Regions from separate parts of the Homo sapiens genome. Here region 2 is linked to region 1. The links are contacts of gene promoters, found by promoter capture Hi-C in human tissues and cell types (Jung and others, 2019). All regions are on one chromosome and are shown on one strand. The core of a region is centred on a gene start or on the middle of the fragment in contact, and the rest is flanking DNA. Distances in the headings are between cores, read along the strand shown.

Region 1 (5,762 bases), core at 1,638-4,137:
TAAAATTAGGGTAGTTTGTTTTAAAATCTACTCAATCCTGACAAAAATCAGGTGGTTAAACTATTGACTGATAAACTGTAAAGGTGGTCATCAAAAACTTCATTGAACAGCTCCAGTCCAGCTACTTAATGACTAATGGTGAAGAAATGTATGTGAATGGGATATAAACTAAGTTTCGACACACAGCAGAAGAAAAAAATTTAGAATGAGTAATAAAGGGCCCAAATTTAAAGTCCACAATAAACTTTAAACAAAGATGTTTTCTCTTCTCTTCTCATGTTAGCAAATCACTGTGGAGAAATCCAACCTCCACAAAACTTGTTACTCCGTCATTAACAACAGTGCACTTAAATATAACTATAGATTTCACAAGGGTATTTATTTTAGCCGCAAACATTTCTTACAAGCAACAACAACAAAATGCTCAGAAGCTATACTCAGTAGTCTCAGTGACTGAAAAAGTCCGGCTTTTAACTGCCATCCAATCCAAACAACCCACTTCTTTAGAAAGCTATGCAAAATATTGACCCCTTACTGAATTATTTTACTATTCAACATTAAACTATCTAAAAGAGAAAAGTAATTAATCGCTAAGTTTAGTTAAGCAATTTAGCTGACATAGTAAATATTTACTCTTCACATCTCACAGGAAGTCTTGACAAGCATTTGCTGCTATTCTGCTGGGGGTAGGGGCGGGAGGTGGGGGTGGGAGGCAATTTTTGATAAACAAGTTACAGGGTCCCAGCGAACTGAACATAGCTGGTGTTCGCCACCCCGACCCCCAATTAGGCACCAGATATTTTCCAAGAACAGTAAACACCTTATATAATGAAAGTAAAAAAAAAAAAAGTAGCTTTCTAAACTATGTATCTCCACTAACAAAACAAACAAAAGCCCCTTTAAAAACTACCAAGAGCACGTTTTTTAAAGCTGTGTGTACGTTTTTTACTTATACGTAAGGCCAATCGCAAAAAAAAAACTAAGCAAAGTATATTTACCTTAGCTTTTTAGAGACTGAGTAATCAACTTCCATGATTTTCCCATGCAATTCCACTTTACCTTTAAAACAGAAATTAAAGCACTCAGAACCTTGCTTAGATCAAGCCCGCGGGGGTCTAGGGGGGGCACGCACGGAACTCCACGCTCGGGCTCCGCCTTCGGGCGCCCCCAAGGGGTCTCCTACCCGGATCGAGCTGGGCGAACTTGGTTCCCAGTAGAAAGAAAGGTGGGCGCCCCGTGTCTCGGGACAAGGCGAGGAGGGTGCGAGCCCGGGTCGGACCCCAGGTATAGCCGTGGGTGGCATTACCGGAAAAACAAATTTAATAAAGAGCGGCGCCAATTTGAAAGGATGAGCTCATTTGAAACTCAAGCTGCAGGGCTGGCGCGGCCCCGCTGCTCTCCCGGCCCCCACCTCTCCATTCCGCTAATCCGGGGCCCGAAGGCTCCACCGGGCTCCCCTCCCTGCCCTCTCCTCCCGGTGGCCCCGAGAAAACGAGCCGAAGCCCCCCGGAGTCCGCCGCAGCGACAGCCCTGTCCCTGCCCGCTCCTGGGTGTCACCTTGGCCTCGCCGCCGCCCCGCCCCCACTCCACACGCCGGTGGGGAAGGGGCTCCCGCCGGGCCGGGGTTCGGGGGGCGCCGGCCGGGGCCCGGGGGCCCGCGCGGCTGGGAGCGGAGCGTGTGCTGGGGAGAGTTGGGGAGTGCGCGCGCGCGAGTGTGTGTGTGTGTCGCTCTCCGTCTCCTGTCTGGGCTCCAGCGCGCTCGCGGGCCCCCCGGTCGCCTCTTTCCCGGTTCTCAACCCTGGCCCCCACCGAGTTGAGACAGGGCACCTCGTAAAAAGGTGCTTCTGGCCGAGCGGGAGGCGGGGGGACGGGCGGCGGAAAGCCCCCAGCCCCGAGTTCTTCTCAATAAAATCGGACAAAAAATTCAGAGAAAAATAGGAGCGCTTGAGAGAGCAAGCGAGAGGGGACTGAGGTTCGGGAAAGGACCGAGGGGATGTGCCGTCGTGCGAGGGCTGGGGCTGGGGGAGCCCCGAGATCTCGAAGGGGGTCACCAGGGTGGCGCCGAGGGGGTGCCAAAAGTGGGGGGCCGTGGGGCGAGGTGGGGAGGGGGCTCGAAAGGAGAGTGCGGCTCAGGAGACGCCAGAGGGCGAGAGGTTCTGGGCACGAGGCACTGGAAGAGAGAAGGTCCGGCCGGGGGAGGAGGAAGAGACGCTGGATTTGGGGAAGGGGGGACCCTGACAAAGGGGGTGACAGGAAGGTCAGGGGAGAAGTGAGACAGGGGACGCTCAAAGGGTGGGGGGCGGGGAAGCTCAGAGCAGCCCGGGGCGCCAGGCGAACGAGGGGTGCCCCTAAGGAGCCGGCGAGCCTCGGGAGCCTTCGGAGCGGCACGGGGGGCGCCCCAAGGCTGCGGCCCCGAGGGCGAGGGCAGAGTCCAGAGCTGTGGGGGGAGGGGAGCGGGCCGTCCCAGGAGCGGGCCGGCGGCGAGAGTTGAGGGTCTGGTGCGTGGAAGTGAGCGTGCGGGCGCGGGAGCCGCCGCCGGGCGCCGCCCGCCGGACTCGGCCTCCCTCCCGGCGCCGTCCCGGCCTGAGCGGGGCGAGGCGGGGGGAGGGGGCCGCGCTGAGTGCTCACCCGAGAGGGTCTCGATGGCGCGGATGGCCCAGTTCTGGTCGGGGTAGTCCACGAAGGCGTAGCCGGACTTCAGCAGGACCTGTCCCGCCAGGGGCAGCTTCCTGTCCCCAAAGAGCTGCCGGAGGTCGTCGGCGGTGACGGCGGGGCTCAGGTTCCCGATGTAAAGCTTGTTCATCATCCGTCTCTTCCCCGAGAGCCCGCGGCTCCCCCGGCCCGGTACCCGGCGCTCCTCGCCTCCTCCGCTGCCCTCGTCTCTCCTCCTCCTCCGCCCCCCCTCCCCGCCCTCCGCCCGCCCGCCACCCACCCCCACCCTCAGCCTGGCTCCCCCCACCGCGGCCGGCCCGGCCCGCCCGGGGGCAGAGGCGGAGGCGGGGACTCGGCGCGGCTGCCTCCTCGGGGCAGAGTCCCGGGCCGGGCGGCGGCGCGCGGACAAAGCGCTCTCTCTGCCTCCCTCTCTCTCCCTCTCAAGGCGGTGGCGGGAGGAGGAGCAGCGGCGGGCGGCGGCAGCGCACCCCGCGTGTGTCTGTGTGAGAGTTTGTACGGGCGTGTGCGCAGCCGAGAGGGAGCGAGCGAGCGCCCCCTCCCCGCCCCGCGCCGCTGCGCCCCTCGCCTCGCGCCCACCGCGCTCGGCAGTGGCTGCTCGGGCTCCGGCCCCGCGCCAGGCGGGCGGAAGCGGGTCGCGGCCCCGGGCTGGGGCTCCGGGCGCCGGAACCCCGGGCGGGCGCGGCGCCGAGGCCGGGCGAGCGGCGGGGCGGGGAAGGCGCGCCCCGGGCGCGGGTGGGAGCGCGCGAGGGGGCGACGGGGAGCCGCGGGCGTGGGAGGGAGAGGGGCTGCGAGTGAGCGCGGAGAGGGGTGTGCGCAAGGTGGACCGGATGTGAGTGCGCTGCTGCCAGGGCAAGCGGGAAGGTGTGTCCCGGAGGTGAGAGGCGAGGGCAGGCTGGGAGACAACAACTTTCGCAGCGACTTGGCCGGGGCTGGCGCCCTGCGCGTTCCCGGGCCGTGCGCTCGCTCTGAGACCCGCTCCCCGCCACGCTCTCTGAGGTGACCGAGCGGCGCGTGTGGTCGAAGGATCGCGCGCGGGAGTCGGGACGCCTAGGACCGGGGTTGGCCGGGCCCTCGCGGACCGTGCTCGCGGGGAAGTGGTTCCCGGTCCCGGGCCTCAGTTTCCCGACCGGGGAGGGAAGGCGGAAGGCCAGCGCGGAGTCACGTCCTCTCCGCCCAGACCCCGCGTGTCCGGAACCCCGCGGCAGGCGGCAGCCTGACGTTGGCAGCTGCTCTCTATTCTGGGAAGTGCCGAGGGCTTCCCGGGCGGCGGCGGCGAAAGCCAGGTGGCGGGTGGGGAAACGAACGCCGAGGGGCCAGGGACTGCGGCGAGGCCGGAGCGCTGGGGTCAGCGGCCGGGGGACGGATGGTCGCCGCCCGGCTGCGCGGCCGGTTCAGCTCCAAAGCCAGGGTGGTGGGAGGCGAGGGTGGCTGGAAGCGGAGGAGCGCAGGCTGTGTAGGAGTTCCCCGAGCACTGGGAAGGGCCCGGAGAGGAAAGAGGTCCTTCCAAGCGGAGGAAACAACGTGACCGACGGAAGAGGCAGGGTTGGGATGAGAGCAGGCTGGAGCCGAGGGGCTCGGGCAGGAGCCAGACAGGCTAGAGCGGGCTGCAAGTTCCGGGGCCCGGCTGGAAGCCTGATGGTTAGAGCCTGGTCCCAGCCAGGAAATGAAATTCTACAGGAGGGAGAAGAATGGCGGGATTCAGAGGTGAGGAGGCAGAAGAAGATTCCAAGCTCTGGACCTCTGGGGGCCACTGGGAGAGTTGAAGGTTTGATCGCGGATATGTTGGGTTTTGTGAAGGCGTTGGGGCGCGGGTGCGGGGAGTGTCCTTGGGTGGAGAAGTCACGAATGTAGGAATGGAACAAGTTCGGGTCTCCTGACTGGGTCGTGAAGTAGTATTGTCTTTCCCAAGCTTTCCTGTTGATGAGCGGCGTGGAGAGAATGGGGCTTGCTGGATTTTGTATTTTCCGCAAGTACTCCCAGGTGATTCTGGTCTGGTAAACACTGTTGGAGTGGAAGGCCTATCTGCCCCGGACTCAGACCTTCTCTCTGCCCCCATCTTTGTGCCCTGAGATGTTCCAGCATTCTCGAGCCTAAGTTTCTTCATCTATAAGGAGATAAAATAACCAGTCCTCGCAGGGCTGTTGTGAGGGCTACAAGAAGGATAACTGCCTAGCGTGTTGAGACATGGGTGGTCAGACACTTAATGCCTGTTTCTCTTCTTTCCCCCAGGAATTCATGAACTTTTAAAATACTTTATTCTACAGAAGGAGATCTTCTTAACTAATTAGGTATCCAGAGGAGAAAGTAATGAATCCATTTTCACCTAGATATTTGCAGTTATTTGAATTCTGGCTTTTGTCTCAAGTATTCACATATTTTTTTCTCTCTCTAGAAAAAGAATCGGATTTTACTGCTCCAGGAGTTGAGAATGAACTTGGTTACTAATCCCCAAAGTAATAGATAAACTAGGTGTGGATGCTTCTTTACTAAATTGTATCAGAGAATCACAAATGAACATGACTTGTGCATGCATAAACCTCAGCAGACTGAACTAACCATCTTTAGATTATTTACACATGTGCTCCTAATTGATATGGTCACCTTTATATTATAGGACAGCATATTTGCTTATTATTCACAGGTACATGTAAAGGAGAAACGAGAGTGGCAGGAATAGTTGGCCTCATTCCTCTCCAACAGGTCAGAAAAACTTGTTGTTGTTGTTGTTGTTGTGTAGCATTTTAGATACATCAATTATTTGGTCTTACTGTGAGACGAAAAACACATTAGACAATGTACAGATTCTTGGCAGAGGTGGTGTATCAGTCCATTTTCATACTGCTCTGAAGAAATGCCCAAGACTGGGTAATTTATAAAGAAAAAGAGGCTTAATGGACTCACAGTTCCACACGGCCCAGGAGGCCTCCTCATAGCGGAAGGTGAAGGAGGAGCAAAGGCACATCTTACATGGGGGCAGGCAAGAGCACGTGTGCAGGGGAACTGCCCTTTATAAAACCATCAGATTTCGTGATACTTATTCACTATTGCAAGAACAGCATGGGAAAAACCCACCCCCATGATTCAGTTAC
Region 2 (5,762 bases), core at 1,225-3,724, 52 kb after region 1:
GGGCACGAGAGATTGCTGAGACCAGGTGTGCCATTTGCATAGCTCACGAAGAACCTGGCCATCCCACCCTAGGCTTTTATTATTTTGGATTTGCAGATGGGGTCTCTACCTGGTCAGAACCATGTTACCTGCTTTTTTACTGCACATGTGGCGACAAAGAAAAGGGAAGAGGGAACCTCCATGTTGAATATTCCTGGCTTCCAGGTATCCCTTTTCTATTAGCACAGCTGCCCGCATTTACCTATGCAAGCTTTTAGCTTGCTTATCTATGCTTGCAGCTTGATTTTTCAGGTTGCTTTTTGTTAGAAAAGAAATTATTTCGGGGCTGCTTTTTACTACAAGGAAACCTTACTGAGGACTCTTTTACCCTCACTCTTTGCCTAAATAATTTCTTTCTAGCTCCTGTATCATTTGTATAGTTTTTTTGGGAAAATGTTAGCATGTTTTTGTTTGAATGAGGGATAGTTGCATTGTATTAGGCAGAGGCATGATTTTGTTACTTTCTCCACTTGGAAGCTAAGTATGACTAGTATGATTAAAAGAGGTATGTAAGGCCAGGCGCGGTGGTTCACACCTGTAATCCCAGCATTTTGGGAGGCCGAGGCAGGTAGATCACTTGAGGTCAGGAGTTTGAGAACAACCTGACCAACAATGGTGAAACCCTGTCTCTGCTAAAACTACAAAATTAGCTAGGCGTAGTGGCTCATGCCTATAATCCCAGCTACTTGGGAGGCTGAGGCAGGAGAATTGCTTGAACCTGGGAGGCGGAGGTTGCAGTGAGCTGAGATCACACCATTGCACTCCAGCCTGGGCAACAAGAGTGAAACTCCATCTCAAAAAAAAAAAAGAGGTATGTAAGAGTGCCAAGTTGACAAGAGGTGACTGTGGTGAATTTGTATTGTATCAGCTTAGCTAAAGTATATATATATATATGTATATATATATATACGTGTGTGTGTGTATATATATATGTGTATATATATATATATATTTTTTTTTCTTTCTTTCTTTTTTTGAGCAGAGTCTCGCTCTGGCACCCAGGCTGGAATGCGATGGCATGATCTCGGCTCACTACAACCTCCACCTCCTGGGTTCAAGTGATTCTCCTGCCTCAGCCTCCTGAGTAGCTGGGACTACAGGTGCCTGCCACCGCGCCCGGCTAATTTTTGTATTTTTAGTAGAGATGGGGTTTCCCCATGTTGGCCATGCTGGTCTTGAACTCCTGACCTCAAATGATCCACCCACCTCGGCCTTCCAAAGTTTTGAGATTACAGGAGTGAGTCACTGTGCCCAGCCATGTAGTGACACTTCCAATTCAAACTCAGGAATACAGGATTTTTTCTTAACCTCATCTACCTTAATCTACTTCTTTTCTTCCTCCACCAAAAAATCGGTATAACCACGCTGTTGCTTTATCTCAAAATGCACACACAACAATCTTAGAATAACAGCACTGACATTAACACAAACATGATTGTTAAAAATGAATTTGGATTTTTTTTTTCCAATTGTTTTTATCCTTAGGGTATATCCCACTAAGAATATACATTCAAATTAGAGCATTTTAAACTCATTTGAAATAATTCATATTTGTATGGTTATACCACCAACTCAACATACATAAATTAGGGTTGTTTATCTCATTTTGCTTTTGATATTTTGGAGTTTTTTTTTTTAAATACATATTTTGGCTGGCATAGTGGCGCACACCTGTAATCTCAGTGCTTTGGGAGGATCACTTGAGGCAAGTTCAAGGCCAGCCTGGGCAACATAGCAAGACCTTGTCTCTACAAAAAAAATTTAAAAATTGGCCGGGCATTGTAACTCACGCCTGTAATCCCAGCACTTTGGGAGGCTGAGGCAGACAGATTGCTTTGAGCTTAGGAGTTCAAAATCAGCCTGGGCATCACGGTGAAACCCTGTCTCTATTTAAAAAAATAAAAATAAGCCGGGTGTAGTGGTGCACACCTGTAGTCCTAGCTACTCAGGAGGCTGAAAAGGGAAGATTGCTTGCTTGAGCCCAGCAGGTTGAGGCTGCAGTGACCTATGGTCATGCCACTGCCCTCTAGCCTGGGCAACAGAGTGAGACCCTATCTCTGAAAAAAATAAAAAATAAAAACAAAATACATATTTTATGCTTATATAAAATGTTTACATGATTCCATGGTCAAATGTGTAAAACAAGATGTATTCGGAAGGGTTTTTCGATCCCTGTCTCCTCTATCCTTTCCTTCCCTCTAGCATACCATACACAGTTTTGGGGGTTTCTTTTTTCATTTGCTAATATGTCCAGAGCACCTATACTATATATACTGCTATATATACTATAGCAGTATATATAGGTATTCCTTATTGCTTTTTTTGTTTTTTTGTTTTTTTGGTTTTTTTTGAGATGGAGTCTTGCTCTTGTCACCCAGGCTGGAATGCAGTGGCGCAATCTCGGCTCACTGCAACTTCTGCCTCCTGGGTTCAAGTGATTCTCCTGCCTCCCTAGTAGCTGGGATTACAGATGCCGCCACCATGCCTGGCTAATTTTTGTATTTTTAGTAGAGATGGGGTTTCTCCATGTTAGCCAGGCTGGTCTTGAACTCCTGACCTCAGGCGATCCACCTGCCTTGGCCTCCCAAAGTGCTGGAATTACAGACATGCTCCACCATGCCCGGCCCCTCATGGCTTTTTACATCTGCGCAGTATTCTATTATATACCATAATTAATTCCATCAGTTCCCTCCTAAAAGATACTCGGATTCTTTCTAGTCTTTTGTTATTATACTTAATTAAGTACTGAAGTACTGATCTTTTCAGATATTTTGTTGAGATATTGGAGCTACCCATACCCAAGTTTGTTGGCTGTCTTCAGGGAAAGTACTAAGCAAGTTGTATGGACCTAGAAACAAGACTCGATACTCACTTTTTTTTTTTTTTTGAGGCAGAATCTCACTCTGTTGCCCAGATTGGAGTGCAGTGGCGCGGTTTCAGCACACTGCAACCTCCGCCTCTCAGGATCAAGCGATTTTCCTGCCTCAGCCTCCCATGTAGCTGGGATTACAGGCATATGCCACGACACCTGTCTAATTTTTGTATTTTTAGTAGAGATGGGGTTTCTCCATGTTGGCCAGGCTGGTCTCCAACCCGTGACCTCAGGTGATCCACCCGCCTTGGCCTCCCAAAGTGCTAGGATTATAGGCGTGAGCCACCGTGCCCGGCCTTTTTTTTTTTTTTTTTCAGTAGAGATGAAGTCTCACTATGTTGCCCAAGCTCATCTTGAACTCCTGGCATCCAGGGTTTCAAACGTGCTCCTCCCACCTCGGCCTGCCAAAGTGCTGGGAGCCCAGCCCACGTTTTTATAATCACAGTGTTTTCCAATTTTTGTTTTTGTAGTGTTTATTGAAAATTCTCTATATTGTATTTAATATACAATAATAAGCTTCATTTTTAAAAATTTTTAATTTTTTTTTTTTTTTTTTTTGATACAGAGTCTTGCTCTGCCTCCCAGGCTGGAGTGCAATGGTGCCATCTCAGCTCACTGCAACATCTGCCTCCCAGCTTCAAGCGATTCTCCTGCCTCAGCCTCCCGAGTAGCTAGGACTACAGGCATGCATCACCACGCCTGGTTAATTTTTGTATTTTTAGTAGAAACAGGGTTTCGCCATGTCGGCCAGGCTGGTCTTGAATTCCTGGCCTCAAGTGATCCACCCGCCTTGGTCTCCCAAAGTGCTGGGATTACAGGCGTGAGCTACCACACCCGGCACATTAATCTTTTTTTTTTTTTTTTTGAGATGGAGTCTTACTCTTGTTGCCCCCGCTGGAGTGCAATGGCACGATCTTAACTCACTGCAACCCTCGCCTCCCAGGTTCAAGTGATTCTCCTGCCTCAGCCTCCTGAGTAGCTGGATTACAGATGCCCATCACCACGCCCAGCTAATTTTTGTATATTTAGTACAGATAGGGTTTTACCATGTTGGGCAGGCTAGTCTCAAACTCCTGACCTCAGGTGATCCGCCCACCCTCCCAAAGTGCTGGGATTACAGGGGGAGCCGCCGTGCCCAGCCAATCTTTTTGTTGTTGTTGTTTTGAGATGGAGTCTCACTCTGTTGCCCAGGCTGGAGTACAGTGGCACGATCTCAGCTCATCAAAGCCTCCACCTCCTGGGTTCAAGCAATTCTCCTGCCTCAGCCTCCTGAATAGCTGGGATTACAGGCATGAGACGCTGCGCCTGGCTAAATTTTGTATTTTTAGTAGAGATAGGGTTTCACCATGTTGGTCAGGCTGGTCTTGAACTCCTGACCTCAGGTGATCTGCCCGCCTCGGCCTCCCAAAGTGCTGGGATTACAGGCATGAGCCACTGCGCCTGGCCTCTGCTAATCTTTAATACAAATTTTGATATATTTTTACTTTGTCACACATAGCAACATATATTCTTTTTGAAAAATTTGTTTCTTATGTATTTTTATATTACACCACAATGTAAAAATATATTTCTTGTGAGTCATAGTCAAATGATACAATCTAAAGAGGATGGAATATCCATAAGTATCGATAATTTAGGATTTTTGTTTTATTTTGTTTTCAATTCCTTAACCCCAACCCCTCTGAAGCTAGAGGCACTGACCTTCACACTCCAAGAAATCTTGTTCTCTGCTCTGCTCCAGGCTTGGTGTCCTGCTGCCCGCCCAGTCTCCTGCGGTGCCTGCACAGTCTTCTGCACTTCCACCTGCACTGTGCGTGGACAGACTGGCTGTTGCAGTCTGTCATCTTGTCATTCCTGTGGCTGATGAGGTGGAGGAAGGACTTCTCCCACAAGGTCTGTAATCTTTTAAAGGGACAGTAAGATACCACAGTCTCGCCCCCTTATTCCTTTTGGCATGTCAACTATTACAACTCTGTTTGTTAAAACATTCACGTATCCCAGGCTGGGTGCAGTGGCTGATGCCTGTAATCCCAGCACTTTGGAAGGCTGAGGTGGGAGGATCACTGGAGGTCAGGAGATCAAGACCAGCCTGAACAACACGGTGAAACCCCGTCTCTACTAAAGATACAAAAATTAGCCCGGTGTGGTAATGCGCACCTGTAATTCCAGCTACTCAGGAGGCTGAGGCATGAGAATCGCTTGAACCTGGGTGGCAGAGGTTGGAACCTCAGGCGTGAGCTGAAATCGTGCCACTGCACTCCAGCCTGGGTGATAACAGTGAAACTCCATCTCAAAAATAATAATAATAATAATTAAAACAAAAAAACCAGGCCAGGCGCGGTGGCTCACGCCTGTAATCCCAGCACTTTGGGAGGCTGAGGCAGGAAGATCACGAGATCAGGAGTTCAAGACCAGCCTGGCCAAGATGGTGAAACCCCACCCCTACTAAAAATAAAAAAACTAGCCGAGCATGGTGGTGGATGCCTGGTATCCTAGCTACTCAGGAGGCTGAGGCAGAGAATTGCTTGAACCTGGGAGGCAGAGGTTGCAGTGAGCTGAGATCTCGCCACTGCACTCCAGCCTGGGTGACAGAGCGAGACTCCATCTCAAAAAAAAAAAAAAAAAAAAAATTGACCTGCGTTCAAATTAGCCCTGATTCTGTGACAGAAATAAAAGTACGTCTACTTTACTGAGAAGGCAAAGGCGGAGAGACCACTTAGGAGATTGTTGCTGTGTGTCCAGATAAGAAGGGGTGGTGGCTTGCGCAGTGTATTGGCAGAGAGGGGGCGCAATGGACCCATTCACTAGGTATGTACAAGATGGACTCAACAGAACTGAATGACTGAGGGGA

Evidence for each region. Contacts are between HindIII fragments. The study calls those that stand out against the background at their distance.
Region 2: a contact is called between a fragment that was not itself captured here and the fragment with the promoter of IGF2BP2 in region 1, in 3 of the 25 tissues and cell types used here (IMR-90 fibroblasts, adrenal gland and mesenchymal stem cells).

The regions. Positions count from the first base shown.
Region 1 is chr3:185,822,155-185,827,916 of GRCh38, forward strand. It overlaps IGF2BP2 (insulin like growth factor 2 mRNA binding protein 2), which reads right to left and starts at 2,888. Exons shown (of 16, transcript NM_006548.6): 1 at 2,629-2,888; 2 at 999-1,059. The coding sequence starts at 2,806. RefSeq lists an enhancer at 891-1,754 and silencers at 2,694-2,924, 2,936-3,205, 3,616-3,705. The HindIII fragment of the contact is 4,290 bases long and covers 1,237-5,526 here.
Region 2 is chr3:185,874,321-185,880,082 of GRCh38, forward strand. No RefSeq gene overlaps it. Among named protein-coding and RNA genes, the nearest start is that of IGF2BP2, 52 kb to the left of the region's middle. The HindIII fragment of the contact is 7,069 bases long and covers 1-5,762 here.